2 separate regions of the Homo sapiens genome follow, and region 1 is linked to region 2. The links are contacts of gene promoters, found by promoter capture Hi-C in human tissues and cell types (Jung and others, 2019). All regions are on one chromosome and are shown on one strand. Each heading gives the region's core, a stretch centred on a gene start or on the middle of the fragment in contact. The rest is flanking DNA. Distances are from core to core; before and after follow the strand shown.

Region 1 (2,700 bases), core at 42-2,541, 560 kb after region 2:
CCTAATTCCAAGATATCTCCTGCAAATAGATATCTATTTGCAGATATCTGGGAGCCGTATTGAAATACTTCCAACTCCCTGGACTCATCCTACTTTTTTTTTTTTTTTTTTTTTTGAGACTGAGTCTCGCTATGCCGCCCAGGCTGGAGTGCAGTGACGCAATCTCGGCTCACTGCAACCTTCACCTCCCGGGTTCAAGCGATTCTTCTGCCTCAGCCTTCTAAGTAGCTGGCACTAAAGGCGCGCCCAGATAATTTTTTTTTTTTTTTTTTTTTAGTAGAGACGGGGTTTCACCGTGTTAGGATGGTTTCGATCTCCTGACCTCGTGATCCGCCCTCCTCGGCCTTCATCCTACTTTTTCTCCCTGAATATCTTTTCGCACCAGCTCTACGTGGAGAAATCCGACTGTCTTTGAGCGAAGTACAGTATCACTTTCTCTTGAAACCTCCCCTGACACGACCCCTCCCCTGACACGACCCCTCCCCTGACAACACCCCCACCCACCCCACCCCAGTTTGGGGGAGGAGCCCCCTCCTTTGTTCCCACTACCCCGTGGGCTTCCCCTATCACACTGTAATAAATATCTGGCCTTGTCTATCTCCTTCTGTGCCCATCACAGAGCAAAGCAAATACAAAGAGTTCATTAAACGTTGGCTGGATGAATGGAGGAGACGGCACAGGGTTCAAGCTCTGCTACTTGTGCGGCCTCAGGCCGACTAATTATCTGGTGGGTTTGTTGTAAGGAGTCAGAACTAAATGGATTAATTACAAATAGTGCTTAGGACAATGCCCAGAATACTGTAAGCACTCAAGAAACTGATTTATTTTCGTCATTTTCACAGCGGCCAAGGTACATGAGGATGTAGCTTATCGCCCTTTTAAGGGACTCTCCCACGTTCGACTCTAAGCGGAAGTACCCGCTCAGGGCTCCGGAAGTGGCCTCAGAGCCCCTCAGCAACATGCCCGCAGAGAATTCTTCCGGAGGCGGTCACAGACATCTCCGTGACGCAGAACGAGTTAGAGCGTCCCTTGGGGTTTCCATGGTGCTGCCCTTAGCCTGCAGTATCTCCACTTCCTCTCCCGCCTGAGCGCCGGGAACGGAAAAGCAGGCGGCCGGTCCCAGCTGCGACGTAGACGCCGCGTGGGGGTGGGGTTGGGCGAGTAGGTGACGCTCTAGGCGAGCTCGTTGGCCTCTCTATGGTGCCGAGCGCGCCCGTTCGGACGTTGCCCCTTTAATCGGCAGAGGGCGGTGCCCAGGAGGTCCCGCGAGAGCTGCGGGGGGCGGGGGGGCGGTGCCGAGGCTGGGGGCCGGTGGCGGATGGAGCCCGCGATGGAGCCGGAGACTCTGGAGGCGCGAATCAGTGAGTGTCCGGGAGGGGCGCGGGCCGGACCGGAACCGGAACCGGGGGCACGAGGCGGGCCCCTTCCCGGCGGGGGCGGGGTACGGGTCGCCCCCTCCTCACGCCCCGCCCCCGGCCCGGGAGGGGCGGTGTCCTCAGTCGGCCCCTCAGACCCTGGAGCGATGGAGGACCCCGGCCCCGGCGCGGTCCAGCGGTGGGAGCGGGCGCCGCCCACCTGTCGGATCCCTGGGCCATGACCCCTGGGACGGCGAGTGAGCTGCGCCGGGAACCCCCGGGACGGAGAGAGCAGCCTCCAACCCCCAAGGCTCACATTGCTTCACGGAGTAGCGGCCCGGGGAAGGAGCACGCGAGCGGTTCCCCGGGGTTGCATCTCACACCCGGGAGGGAGGGACCCTACTATTTTCAGGCCCCGAATCCTCCACTCTCTGGCCCTGCATGGCGTTCCTGGAGCCCGCAAGTAGTCACATTTGCTCATTACCCCGTCCTGGAAGGGAGGACCCACTGCCCCATTTGATTCCTCCCGCCGCTCCTAGTCTCTAGCCACATAGTGAGAAACCCCCGCACCCTACAGGCTTGGGAGAGTCTTAGACTCCAGAAGTATTAATAATTCCAAGCTCCCTGTCACTCCCTTCAGCCTAACCCCTCAGTCTCCAAGATGCCTTTCCCAGCTCTTGCTGAACTTCCTTCAAAGGCTTCTACACCCCTTTTTTTCTTGTTTCTCCTCAGACGTAGCTTCCTATTGCTTAGGCTTCCTAGCCCGCAAACCCTCCACCTGAGCTCCTTAACCCACAGCCCTGATGATCCCCTGCTCTCACAGCCCCGCTCCTGGACTCTGCCTCTGAAAGCCGTGGCTGGCTTCTCCCTGGTCTAGTGAGGGTTCTCTCCCAAGGCTTTAACTGCTGTTGGGACCCCGTCGTTGCCAGGGCCTCAGGGAACCCTCTTGGACCCGGGCACACCGGCAACTGTCTAGCGTGGTTTGGGGTCATGGCCGGCCCCTTTTAAGCCAGGCTTGAGCAGAGTTGAACCATGAGGTTGGCCCCAGAACCAAACCTCTAGGGATGTTTCAGAGTCATCCTAGCCACCAGAGGGGCAGGGGGTGGAAAAGGGGCACTCAGCAGCCCTTGACCGTTGTGAACGCCGGAAGTGTCCGCCTGGGTCTCAGCAGCAACTGGGCTGGGGGGATGGGTGGGCCCCTGGCTAACTGATCTCAGACACAGGTCTTGAGCTGTGGGTCATACAAAACATTCTCAGGTTTAGAAACAGTGGGGGTTTTCTGAGAGTCCAGAGAGTCTAAAACCAGGCAGAAGTTAGAGATACCTGGGTTTGGCTGGGCCCTGAC
Region 2 (2,700 bases), core at 24-2,523:
GTTGTAAATCCCATTTGGCAAGAGAGAAAGCCAATCTCAGAGAGGAAGTTGCTCAGGACACACCTAGTGAATTTTAAGTAGCAGGATTCCAGTACACCTTTGATCCACTCCCTGCCAAGGAGAAAAGCTTTATGCAGAAAGCAGGGCATTGGGTGGTAACAGGGAAACTTCTCCCAGCACAGGGCCAGGCTGCCCAGTGTTCGGGCCAGCTGCGTGTGACATTGGATCAGTGAGAGGAGCCCCAGACCTCTCCCCCATAGGCCAGGACCAGGACTGAAACCAGTAAGGAGAGGAAGCTAAGGAGACAGCTTCCTCGTCAGCCCTTGTCCCTCCCTGGTCCCGGACCACATGAGGAACTGCTCCCTTCCCCCATCCTGAGGTCCACAGAATGACGGTTCCCCTCCGAGTTAACTGGGGAATAACTCAGAAAGCCACCCGCAGAACCAATCCCTCCTCCTTCTTAGGGAGGACGTGGAAAAACTGAGAAAGGCCAAAAGCCAGAATGGAAACTCAGTTCTCCTGACTCGGATCCAGGGCGTGCTCTACTCTTCCTCCTTAGAAGTCTTTCCCAAGGATCCCTGACATTCCATGGTCAGGGAGCAGGAAAGAGACCTTGGTGGGTACTCACTCACCAGCAATGTGAGTAGGGCGGTCACTTCGCTTCTGTGGCTTCATCTGTAAAATGGGTATAGCCCAAAATACCAGACTCACAGGGCTGCTGAGAGCTTAAATTCATAACACATATACACAAAGTGTCTGGCATACAGGTGCTCAGCCAACCTCAAGTCCAGCTATGTCGTTCTCCAAGAACTCAGGTGAGGGAAAGAACCCACTCCCACCCACCCCGCCCCCACCCCTATACACACAAAGGGCAAATGAAAAAATATGACGAAACACATGCGGGTCAATGCTATGGGGATTCCTGGAGGGGAAAGTTTCTTCCCTTATCAGCTGTTGGACGACGGAGACGGCACAAAGGAAAAACAAGAATGCTCGGACCCATGGGATGACTGCAGATTTGGGGAAGCCCTCATTCTTTTCCCAGAGGCCGGGAGTTCGACCTTCCCCATACACAGTGATTTGGCCAGAGGGCATCTTCACCACCCCAGACTGCGGGCCTGCGGGGAAGGGCGAAGCGGGGCGGGACCGGGGGCGGGAGCAGCGCGGGGCGGGACCCTACCCGCGGCCCACGCGGAGCCAGGAGGCGCGGACTACAGCTCCCGGCCTGCCCCGCGTGCGGTCCCCGCCCGCCCCCAGCGCCCGGGAGGAGGATGCAGACGCCGCGGCCGGCGATGAGGATGGAGGCCGGGGAGGCAGCGCCGCCGGCGGGGGCGGGCGGCCGCGCCGCAGGCGGCTGGGGCAAGTGGGTGCGGCTCAACGTGGGGGGCACGGTGTTCCTGACCACCCGGCAGACGCTGTGCCGCGAGCAGAAGTCCTTCCTCAGCCGCCTGTGCCAGGGGGAAGAGCTGCAGTCGGACCGGGTGAGGCCCCCGGGGTGGGCGGCGAGCGGGCGGTGGGTCCTCCGCTCGCCCGACGCGGGGCTGTCGGGCCTGGCTCGCCCGCCAGGCTGGGGACCCGGCCGGGTTCATTTCCGAGGAACTGGAGGCGGGAAGAAGCGGCAGGAGGAGGGGAGGGGGAGGTGGGTCTGGTAGTGAGGGATGTACCCATTGCCGTGGCAACGGGACGACGCAGGCCGCGGCCATTAGAAGCTCTCCAGCCGCCCCGGATCGGGGCCTCTCCTTCTCCTTTGGGGCTGTGGACAGGGAGAGACCTGGGACCTTTCCTCCCTCCCAAAGGGGACTCCTGCTCTGGGGAAGGAGTCGACGAGGCTACTTCTCCCGCTCTTTGGGATGTGGGTGGCGGAGGGGTGCAGGGAGCTAGCTGGATGGAGGAGCCCTGGGGCGCCTTCTGAGCGGGCTGAATCTAGAAGGAGCGTTGGCCCAGCGGGCACTATTTCTGAGCACCCACCCTGACTCTGCTGCACACTGCCTGCCGCGACCTTGAGTCGGACCCTTCCCTGCACTGCGCTCAGCCTCCTTCCTCATCTGTAACACGAAGGGCTGGTCTGAAGATGACCTCTAAGGTCTCCTGTCCCCCATCCGTGACCCTCCGATGCTGTGGCCTTTGGCAAGTCGCCTCACCTCTCAATGTCTCCGATCTCTCTGTAGAGTCGCATGGAAGCCCACCCTGCCTCCCTGCCCGCCCGAGTGTCCAGTGAGATAGTGACTCCTTTGGAAACTTGTAAACATCCCCTGAAAGCCTAGGGACCTGGGGGCGACAGTGGGGCTGGCTTCAGGGGACAGCCTCTCAGAGGGACATTCTTCGAGCCCTGTGCTGGGCCAGTTGCCACTCAGACATCCTCTCACCGGATGCTCACAGCAAACCCTGATTAGGGGGAGAGGAGTGAGTTTCAAAGAGGCCAAATCATTAGCCTAAGGTCACACATTCAGGAAGAGTCAGAAGCAGGGCTTGAACTCAGGTCCATCTGACCCCAGTGCCTTTTTGCTACTTTGTGCCTGCTCCATCCAGGGAAGAGCTCTCCCTCCACTCTCCTTCCCTCCCTGTGCGTGTGCGGGGTTGGCTGGGGAGAAGCCTCACTCTTCTCTCACCGAGCATCCCTCACCTCCATAGGATGAGACCGGGGCCTACCTCATTGACCGTGACCCCACCTACTTCGGGCCCATCCTGAACTTCCTCCGG

What was found. The method cuts DNA at HindIII sites, captures the fragments that hold promoters and counts their contacts. A contact is called where the count stands out against the background at its distance.
Region 1: a contact is called between the fragment with the promoter of GGA1 here and the fragment with the promoter of KCTD17 in region 2, in 1 of the 25 tissues and cell types used here (dorsolateral prefrontal cortex).

Annotation. Positions count from the first base shown.
Region 1 is chr22:37,607,543-37,610,242 of GRCh38, forward strand. It overlaps GGA1 (golgi associated, gamma adaptin ear containing, ARF binding protein 1), which reads left to right and starts at 1,292. Exons shown (of 17, transcript NM_013365.5): 1 at 1,292-1,361. The coding sequence starts at 1,319. RefSeq lists enhancers at 672-751, 902-1,071, 1,676-2,297, 2,012-2,121 and a silencer at 1,232-1,681. The HindIII fragment of the contact is 29,756 bases long and covers 1-2,700 here.
Region 2 is chr22:37,050,469-37,053,168 of GRCh38, forward strand. KCTD17 (potassium channel tetramerization domain containing 17) reads left to right here and starts at 1,274. Exons shown (of 9, transcript NM_001282684.2): 1 at 1,274-1,481; 2 at 2,632-2,700. The coding sequence starts at 1,293. RefSeq lists silencers at 1,066-1,375, 1,386-1,505 and enhancers at 1,442-2,159, 2,160-2,700. The HindIII fragment of the contact is 12,846 bases long and covers 1-2,700 here.